Regions from separate parts of the Homo sapiens genome. Here regions 2, 3 and 4 are each linked to region 1. Evidence: promoter capture Hi-C in human tissues and cell types (Jung and others, 2019). All regions are on one chromosome and are shown on one strand. The core of a region is centred on a gene start or on the middle of the fragment in contact, and the rest is flanking DNA. Distances in the headings are between cores, read along the strand shown.

Region 1 (2,523 bases), core at 13-2,512:
CTCCTACCTGCCCCCTCCCTGGAGCACTTAGGGATGGATGGGGGAAACTTTCACTATAACAAAAGGCGAGTAAACTCTTTCTGAAAATTAGTTTAAGGCCCCTAGTGGTTTAATCTTTACTGCCGCGTAAATTAACTCAAATATTAAGCCAGCAATAAACCGGCGCTCCAGTATCAACCATCCTTTTCTCTGTTAATACGAACTAGGAACTCAGGTTGCTGTTTTCTTTCCCCTCCCACGTGTGCTGATCGTGTAAAAGAATCACAGGAACACACGAGCAATGAAATGTGTAAATAAGAAAAATGCACACACATCACGAGCTCATTTCTTCCCAGATATTTTTTGGTCAACCTCTCAAGCTTGGAACAGGCTCTATAACAGATGTGCGTTTGTGTGTGCATATTGGAAAACAGAAAAATAAGGTCAGCGCAAACACTACTTGTAATACAAACTAATGTAAGAGAAAACTTCTTTTTCAATATTAACAACGACACTAGAGAAATAATGTAAAATAAATATACGGTTGGAACTAGGGGTAAAAAAAAAATCAGCAACGTCAGCAAACTGAGATGGGGTGAGTTGGAAGGCAGATTGGAATTTATCTCTTAAAAAAATATCACCCTAACTAGAGACCTGTTTTGCCTAAGGGGACGTGACTCACATTTTCGGATAATCTGAATAAGGGGAATTGTGTCTGCTCGAGGCATCCATTCTGGTTCGGTCTCCGGACTCCCGGCTCCCGGCACGCACGGTTCACTCTGGAGCGCGCGCCCCAGGCCAGCCAAGCGCCGAGCCGGGCTGCTGCGGGCTGGGAGGGCGCGCAGGGCCGGCGCTGATTGACGGGGCGCGCAGTCAGGTGACTTGGGGCGCCAAGTTCCCGACGCGGTGGCCGCGGTGACCGCCGAGGCCCGGCAGACGCTGACCCGGGAACGTAGTGGGGCTGATCTTCCGGAACAAAGTTGCTGGGCCGGCGGCGGCGGGGCGAGAGCGCCGAGGGGGAGCCGGAGCGCTGCAGAGGCGCGGGCCGGAGGGCTGGCGCTGATCTGCACCCTTCTCATCTGGAGAGCGGACCCCTGGCTGCCCGGAGGCGAGCCCCTTCCCGGGGGGTGGGGGCGGCAACGCGCGACCCAGCGGTCCTGCGCCCCACCCTCCCTCCTCCGCCTCCAGCGCTCGGCTCCAACAAAGGGGCAGGCCCGCAGCGGGGAGGAGGAGGAGGAGCCGCCGAAGGAGCGAGCCTCTCTCGCGCACAAAGTTGTGGAGTCGTTTTTCCTCGGAGCAGGGAAGCGGGCAGCAGCAGCCGGCCGCGGGCTTTCTCCCGCCGAGGGGCGAGGAGGAGCCTCTGGCTCCAGAAGCCGATTGGGGAATCACGGGGAGCGGCGCCCCCCTTCTTTTGGGTCATTTCTGCAAACGGAAAACTCTGTAGCGTTTGGCAAAGTTGGTGCCTGCGCGCCCCTTCCAGGTTTGCGCTTTGACTGTTTTGTTTTTGGCGGAACTACCAGGCAGGAAGATTGCACAAGTAAGGGGCGTTTTCAGTCGGGTGTCAATTTCTCTTTCTTTCTTTCTTTTTTTAAAATTTCGGTTCGTGTCTGCTTCTCCAAGCTTTATTTTTTTTTTTAAATACATCGCACCACCAAACTAACACTCGCACACACCCCCGCGGTTACTCCGTGTCAAACTCCTAGAGGAGCCCTTGGCCAGCTCGGGGTGCGGCGGTGGCGACCGGCAGGCGAGGAGGCCCGCGGGCAGCAGGTAAGCCCATGCATTATTGAAGCCTCGGGCTGGTAATGTGACTACAGCCCCCGAGGGAATGGGGCGGGGGCCGGGAGGAGGATGGCTCTTTCTGTGGTTCTTCCGCCTGGGATCGGCGTCCCGAGCTGCTTCCCAAGTCCCAGAGTCGAAGATGGGAGTAACTTTTGCGTGCCCTTTCCTCGGGGCCTCAGTTTAGCTCCCCGCGGTGCGAGAGAGAATGCCGGAGGCGTGGAGAGCTCGGGCGTGGAGGTCCTTGGGATCCGTACTAGTTGTGAACGATCCAAACTTATCTGACCAGCTCTGTGCTGCCTCCCTGCTCCCCTAATCTTCCTCCCCGCCGGGGTGACAGAGTCGCCCTCCGTGCATCGCGCGGTGCAGGGCGCTGGGCCAGTGATTTGCAAGAGGGGACGTGGCCTCTTAGGAGAGTCTGTCACAGACACCCGGGCCCGGGGAAGGCGGGGCTCCGGCGGTGTCCACAGGAGAGGGTGGGCAGAGGGTGGCTGTGTGGTCGGCGGCCAGCGGAGCGCTTCCCAGCCAGCCGCCCGGCGGGGAACGTGCTTGACCTCTGGGTGGTTGCTGCTCCCAAGGGTGGGGCTCCGGAGAGTGTGGCGCGATCGCCAAGCTCCCTGGCAGCGGCCCTGGAGAGACTGAGGGGACAGGAGGAGGGGGGCGCCCCATTGGTGTGTAGTCCCGCGCAGTCGCCGGCTCTCCTTTTCCGGACTCTGGGGATCTCTTGCTGCAACTGACAAGGTAATTCATGCCCCGCTTTGGCCC
Region 2 (2,523 bases), core at 11-2,510, 100 kb after region 1:
TGTAGCATGTGTCTGAATTTCCTTTCTCTTCAAGGCTGGTTATTATTCCATTTTATGTAAATATCACATTTTGCTAATTAATTGATCTGTTTGTGGACACTTGGGTTGCTTCCATCTTTTAGCTTTTGTGAATAGCGTTCCTATTAACATGGATGTACAAATATCTCTGAGATTCTGCTTTCAGTTCTTCTGGTTATATCATTGCATATGCTTTTTACTCAGATCCCGTTTCTCCTTGACATAACCCTAGGTAATGGTAGTTAGCTTACTCTTATCTTGAGGGAAATGCTAAAGTTTTGAGGAAAGATCATTCATCCAAATCTTTTTGTTTGATTGACTCTTGCTAACCTCCAAGAAAAATTTGTGATCACGAGTTATATTTTATACAGTCCATAGGTTCAGGGAAGGGAGTAATTCTAGTGTTCCTAAAAGATGCCATTGCAGTGCTGTAATGCAGAAAAACGCTAGGTTTTGGGGTGTCCTTAGGAAGGAGACAAGAAAGAAAACAGAGAACGTTATCCTTCCTTTGCAAAGCCATGTTGACTGTGCACATGGATTACGATCTGAGATTCTGGTCTCCTACTTAAATGATTTAACAGTGGAAGGTATTCTAGTGAAGGAAACCCAAGTCCCGGAGCGAATGCATTTGTTACTTTTGTAAAACTGACTAAGGTGATCAGTACTCTTCAGTCTAAAAATATGAAAGTGGAAAGAAGACATACTTACCAGCTATAAGCTTATTTCAGAAAAGCAAACATAAACTTATTCTTCTAACCTTCAACAGTTATCTGGACTTTTTGATGCTTAAAAGACCAGCAAATGTTCAAGACAAATGAGAGGAAGAGCTATTTTACACTGAAGATATAATTAGCAAGTTTGCAGTACCCAGTGATAGTATAGACTGAATTTACAAATTTTTTCTTTTAAAGGCAATAAATGTCAGACTCACAGTAGACTATTAAATAAAGACAGTGCTGCCAGAACTCTATTTTTTTTTTTTTTTCTTTTGAGACGGAGTCTTGCTCTTTCGCTCAGGCTTGAGTGCAGAGGTGCGATCTCGGCTCAGTGCAACCTCCGCCTCTTAAGTTCAAGTGATTCTCCTGCCTCAACCTCCTGAGTAGCTGGGATTACAAGCGCACACCACCACACCTGGCTAATTTTTGTATTTTTAGTAGAGACAAGGTTTCATCATGTTGACCAGGCTGGTCTTGAACTTTTGACTTCAGATGATCCACCTGCCTCAGCCTCCCAAAGTGCTGGGATTATAGGCATGAGCCACTGTCCCCGGCCCAGAACCCTAATTTTTAACAGTGACAAGAAGTTAACATGAAGGAAGTCATTAGGAAAGTGAGTGGCCTGTAAATGAAGTTTCTTGCGCTTTTGCTCAGGCAATGGATTTTATCTGTCCCCCTCATCCAACCCTACCTGAATGAGCTTTTTAATTAAAAAATTCATTAGTAAGGCTGGGAGCAGTGGTTCATGCTTGTTATCCCAGCACTTTGTGTGGTGTAGGCGGGCGGACTGCTTGAGCCCCGGAGTTCGAGACCAGCCAGGGCAACATGGCGAAACCTCGTGTCTACAGAAAAATACAAAAATTAGCCAGGCATGTTGGCACATGCCCTCCAGGTACCTGGGAGGCAGAGGTGGGAGAATCGCTTGAGCCTCGGAAGTTGAAGGCTGCAGTGAGCCGTGATCATACTACTGCACTCAAGCCTAGGTGACAGAGTGAGACTCTGTCTCAAACAAACAAACAAAAAGTATTAGTAGTTTATGTGAACCTTTTCATAGTTATGAAAATTAAAAATAAGAATATGTATTTTTCAATATGAGACTAAACCTTTCAATTATTTTATTTATTAACTTCCAATTTATACCCTTTTAGGCAAAGAGTTCTGTGATTTATGGGCCAATTTTTAAACTGTGATGTCCATGGGAAGAAATTTTTAGCCCTGAGTTTTGAAGGGGAATGCAGTGTTCCTTTCTGACTTGTTTTTCCTGCTTATTATAAATATTTATCTTGGACAAAGGATTGCATTTTAGCGGATGTGCAATTTTACAAATTTAATTATTAAAATGACTCTTCTTCCTTTTTTTATGATCTTACATTTTGTTTTTAACTTGTCATGGCGGATATTAAAACACTCCAAATAAAGACAAAAAAACTCAATATAAAAAAAAACCAAAAACCACTTCCGAAATACTCCATTTTTTCTTATTTAAAAAAATGCTATTTATAGTAGTAGTTGGCATTTCATCAAAGTACATAAGCAAAGGACAGATACTCCTCATTTTTTCCCAGGTTTCTATTCTTTTTCTGAAAGTGAGTAAAATATTAGGCTTTGGAGAAAGTCTAGGTAGTTTGGTGTGATCTGTTGGTAGCATTTTGTTTTGCCTTAATCTTCTATTTTTTTCTTCCCATTTTATTTATTTATTTTTTTGAGATGGAGGCTCATTCACTTTGTCGCCCAGGCTGGAGTGCAGCGGCGCGATCTTGGCTCACTGCAACCTCCGCCTCCTGGGTTC
Region 3 (2,523 bases), core at 11-2,510, 100 kb before region 1:
TTCCCAGTCTTGGGTATGTCTTTATCAGCAGTGTGAAAATGGACTAATACAATGTGATTGTCACCTCCACTCTTTGGTCTGCTGAGGTAGGTGGAAACCTGCTTTCTGAATTGTTCCTTCCTGATATGACAGAAAATTTTAAGATTCTATGTGCCAAATATAGTAGGCTATTCAAAGCAGGATCTAGGTCTCAATGGCTAGAATATTTAACTAATAGAATATCACCATCCTTCCTTGTTCCCTGTGAATGCTATCAGAGTATTTATTCATGTACCTGAGGGTGCCTCATCATAGTAAGCTCAGTCTTCAATTTTATTCATACTCCCATGCCTGCAACAATTATAATTTTCCATCATAAAATGAAGGGATCAGAATAAACTATTTCAAACATTCTTGATTCCTTTTCCTTTTGAGCTTCAGAGATTGTTTTTATGAAAGTGAGTTTTCAGCTGACTTTCTTATTTAGCCTCCATACCAGGGAGCCAGAAGGCAGTGCTTATGAAAGCCACCATCTTTCCAGTGGGGGAGAGAGGCCAGTAGCTACCCCTTTTCCTTCTCTATCAGGTTTTTGCTCATCGAGATTGCCCCCAAGCTAGGAATTATTATAAGTTCTCCAGAATTGCATGATAATTATGAATAAAAAGCTGACATGGGCCAGGTGCAGTGGCTCATGCCTGTAATCCCAGAACTTTGGGAGGCTGAGGCAGGTGGATCACCTGAGATCAAGAGTTTGAGACCAGCTTGGCCAACATGGTGAAACCCCATCTCTACTAAAAATACAAAACTTAGCTGGGCGTGGTGGTGCATGCCTGTAATTCAAGCTACATGGGAGGCTGAGGCAGGAGAATCACTTGAACCCGGGAGGCAGAGGTTACAGTGAGCCGAGATAGTACCACTGCACTCCAGCCTGGGCAACAGAGCAAGACCACCTCAAAAAAAAAAAAAAAAAAAAAAAAAGCTGACATGGTAGGTATCTATGGAATGGGTCACAAATTTGAGTATGCATTATAATCACCTGGAGATCATCCTAGGCCTACCGAATCAGAAACTCTAGGTGCCCAGGCATCTGTAATCTTTGAAGCTCTCCAGAAGATTCTGTCACCTCTTGCAGACCGAGGACCACTGAGCTACCATCATCTCTTTGTTCCTTTGTTTTCTCTTACACAAAACTTTATTGCTCAATGAAAAAAGGCTTAAGCAATACCCCCTTCCTTCCTTATTGGATCTGGTTTTCAGTACAGATTATATGCATGCCTGAAAAGAAAATTAGAAAGCAGAAGCAGATTTTTGGTAGTTGGTTGTCAATTTTCTTTTGAATTCTTCACCTCCATGCAAATTGAAGCAGGACTTATTTTTAGCAACTTGATGAATGCAATTTACCAAAGTTTATTACATTATCTTTTATTACAATAAGACAGGAAGGTCAGTGGAATTGTCTGATTTTTCTTTCTCATTTACCATAGTTCTCTTTCTAGGAACTCATAGTACAGAATCAAGCTATGGGATATATAGGTTATTTTGATTCTCTATTTGTGCCCACTTCTATATTTTTGTATAACTTCAGTAGTGTATACACTTTTAACCTTTTTGGAGACATTCTTAGGAATAGCAGTCTCTTCGTTGACTTTCTGTTGTAGTTTTCCTAATGTTTGCTCCCTGGTGACCAGGAGACCTTCTATGTCAGTGGAGACAACTCATCCAAGGCTGGCTGAGCCAAGAGAGGTGGGCAGGAAGGCCAGGTGAAGGCCCCCTTCCCTCCTTTACCACACCTCAATAGAGAATCTTTATGTCTCCTGTACCCTTTCTTTTTCTCTTATTAGCACATTATGGACTTGCGCCTTCACATGAGCTTGGGCCCTTACCTGATTTATAATTTGCTATCTATGACTTTATGGTTGTTCAATCTTGAGAAGGAATGACTGTCCCTGGACATCTTCCAAAACCATTTTCTATATGATTGAATTGTACTTGACTCTTCTTATTGTGATGAGATGATTTCCCCCAATAGCTTTTTAATGGCTGTAGGAGAGCAATACAGAGCACAGGACCTGTCTAGGATAAGCAGGATACATACAAATGATCCCTAGTGTCCCAGGGCGTGGTACAGTCCCTTATCTACCCATTTCCTTCCATTGAAGTGCCTTGTAAGGCTTGGCCAACATGTAAGGAAGGAAGGCATCTCTCACCTATTCTTGCCTTGTTCATCAAAATGCATCCATTCCATCTCATCCACTTGTTGCATGGTAGACTATATTGGGTACTAACTTAAGCAGATGGGTACAGCTCAACTCTACGCAAACTAGCTAATGTGCTTTCCCCAGGTAGCATAAAATGTTAACTTGATTGCCATGCATAGACTTTTAAAAGTTGCTAAGGAGTTAGTCCTTTAAACGAATAGTATTTATTGTTTTATGGGGGTTTTTAAATTATGAAATGTGTGTGGACATTATAAAAATTTTGGAAAATACAGAAAAGCAAAAGGAAGCAATTTAAACCATGTATAATTCCACAACTCAAAGAAAA
Region 4 (2,523 bases), core at 11-2,510, 67 kb before region 1:
TTTTTTTCTTCTTCTCCCTTTAAAATTGTTTGTTTAATGAGAGCCATCTAAGAATTTTTAAAAGTTGCAAGTACACTGCAAATAACTTTTTTTCCTCTCTTGAATCATTTAAAAGTAAAATACCTAGTGGATGCCCAAGTACTACTATTAAAATCAGGAAATTAACATTGATGATTTAATACCATCTAATCCTCGGTGCGCAATCGGTCACCAGTTGTCGCAAGAATGTTCTTTATAGCAAAAGGCTCCTCTTCAGAATGATGCGTTGCATTTACTTGTCCTGTCTCCTTCGGCTTCTTCCGTGTGGATCAGCTCCTCAGCCTCTGCTGACTTTCATGATCTTGACACTTCTGCTGACAAGCCAGCCGGTTTGTAGAATGTCCCTTTGTCAGTCTAGGTTTTCTGGTGTTTCCTCCTGATGAGATCCAGGCTCTGTTTATTTAGCAGGACTTCCACAGAAGCCATGCAGTGTTCTCACGGCAGCCTCTCAGGTCGCATGATTTCCGTGTGGCCTGCTTCTCTGCCAGGCTTCTCCTCTGTAAAGTTACTGTTTTCCCTTTGTGATTAGTACCTGTTTTAGAGGGAAGTGCTTTGAAGCTGTGTAATATCCGGTGCCTTATCAAATTTTCATTTTATTCAATTATTTATGGAATTATAAGTTATGTACGTATGTATCCATGGTGCCCTATTTTAATTAATGGTTACAATCCATTCATTCATTTTGATGCTCAGAGTGTCTCAGATTGGGCCAGTGACAGCCCATTCAAGCTGACTTTTGACCTGTCTGCATTATTCTTTAGCACTTCCTTACTTCCTACTCCAAGATGGTCCAGATTTACCTTGTGCTTTCCTGACCCAGTACTAGAATCAGCCATTTTCTAAAGATCCTTGGTTCCTTTTAGTGGAGAATGGTATCTAGAAACCAAGGTCTCAGTGCTAGGTGTGCTCATTGCTTTTGAGGTGTTGCTACTTCCAGGCCCTCTGGGTAGACAGAATTAAGGAGTGTGTGTGTGTGCATATTTATCTATTTGTATATCTATATAAATATATATCTATATTTATTCATATATCTTTATGTATATCAAGGAGTTTATATATACCTCCAATTCTGATCCAACACTATAGACTTTGTTCTATTTTGTCTCCCTGTCCATGTTTGTAACTCCCTGAATTCCTGCCTCCCCAGTGCAGATCTATACATTGCTTAAGCTCATGTAATGGCTTTAGAATTGAATTGTTCAAAAAGGAAAGAGAAAAAGAGTGTCTACATATTTTGGAAATAAACATCCTGCCAGCAACTGAGAACAGGCTCTGAGCCACTCACTATTAGATACTTGGGATGTGCAGATAAATAACCCGGCCTCTGTCTCAGTGAGCTCAGATAGCAAGAGACAGAGATTTTAATAAGCCACATTTGTAATGAAAAAATATGAATTATGCCCAAGGTGCTAAAGGAGTGGTTTGGGAAGGCCTGACTCTTCCTCAGAGAGCCAGCTTTAGTTGAGAGGTGAAAGAAGAGAAGCAGGGATGAGGGAGGGGCAAGAGGGAGAGGGAGACAGATACAGGTGGGGTAAGCCACGTGGGAGCCATCTGGGGGCCCTGTGAAGTATGATGCCCAGGATGCCCTGAAGGATTTGCAACAGAAGGAACCTGACAAGTGTTACATTTGGAAGTATCTGTGTCTACCGATGTAGAGAATCTTGGTCTGTCTTTATAGGCTTGGGATGGGGGGCATGTTGAATTGGTAGAAAATATTTTGGGGGAAAAATTGTTTAATTCTGTTAATAGCCAGTTAGACTGAGCTCAGTCTTTCTCTTCCTCCTTAAAAGCCCAGGATTTTTTCCTTGAAAAGCAGATTTGTTATATTAGATTCTTTATATATTTTCAAAAGTTCTTAAAACATAGCGAATATATTGAAGTTAAATTTGAATCGTTAACTTAGTTTGAATTAAATTTACATTAGTTTAAATTAAATTTGAATCATTAAATTTGTATACTGCCACTAAACTTATAATGATTTTCTAATAATTATTTTAACAAAAAGAACTTAAGTCAATCCTTTGAATTAAAAATTAACAGTGTGGCTTTATAAACATTCTCTGTGGGTTTGAACTAGTTGTAAGTTATTCAAAATTGTTTATTTTCTATTGGGCTTTTACATAGATCTCTGTAGGAAAAGCTGCTACCAATGTATTTACGCAGTGACACCTACTGGTTAAGTTGAGGCAAATTTTTTGTTAAATTCTGTCTGCCTTGTTCTGACTATAGAATTCTGATAATTTGCTCCACAGTTACTGTGTTTGGAAGCAGATTCAGGCTATATCTATGTCAGCCAGTAAATTGACTTTCTTTTTTCTCTTGTAATCATTAATGATAAACCTGCCATTGAAAATAATCCTGAATCACTGATACAACTTGCACGAGACATTATTTTCATTGTATCAATAGAAGCTTTATTGCACTGCATCTTCTTTGTTTGTTTCAGTTCATTTTCCAATTCCAAATCTGGCTATGAAGTTGAAG

Evidence for each region. Contacts are between HindIII fragments. The study calls those that stand out against the background at their distance.
Region 2: a fragment that was not itself captured here is called in contact with the fragment with the promoter of UTRN in region 1 in 5 of the 25 tissues and cell types used here (adrenal gland, heart left ventricle, hippocampus and 2 more).
Region 3: a fragment that was not itself captured here is called in contact with the fragment with the promoter of UTRN in region 1 in 3 of the 25 tissues and cell types used here (hippocampus, lymphoblastoid cells and spleen).
Region 4: a fragment that was not itself captured here is called in contact with the fragment with the promoter of UTRN in region 1 in 5 of the 25 tissues and cell types used here (bladder, dorsolateral prefrontal cortex, liver and 2 more).

Annotation. Positions count from the first base shown.
Region 1 is chr6:144,284,073-144,286,595 of GRCh38, forward strand. It overlaps UTRN (utrophin), which reads left to right and starts at 1,263. Exons shown (of 75, transcript NM_007124.3): 1 at 1,263-1,749. It overlaps LOC124901418, which reads left to right and starts at 2,426. Exons shown (of 1, transcript XM_047419641.1): 1 at 2,426-2,523. RefSeq lists an enhancer at 633-702 and silencers at 833-892, 1,103-1,202. The HindIII fragment of the contact is 2,482 bases long and covers 980-2,523 here.
Region 2 is chr6:144,384,719-144,387,241 of GRCh38, forward strand. The region is part of intron 2 of UTRN (utrophin); the gene reads left to right. Among named protein-coding and RNA genes, the nearest start is that of SNORA98, 20 kb to the right of the region's middle. The HindIII fragment of the contact is 6,242 bases long and covers 1-2,523 here.
Region 3 is chr6:144,180,661-144,183,183 of GRCh38, forward strand. All of the region lies in intron 1 of STX11 (syntaxin 11), which reads left to right. Among named protein-coding and RNA genes, the nearest start is that of STX11, 31 kb to the left of the region's middle. The HindIII fragment of the contact is 4,950 bases long and covers 1-2,523 here.
Region 4 is chr6:144,217,078-144,219,600 of GRCh38, forward strand. No RefSeq gene overlaps it. Among named protein-coding and RNA genes, the nearest start is that of TRL-TAA1-1, 1.8 kb to the left of the region's middle. The HindIII fragment of the contact is 9,184 bases long and covers 1-2,523 here.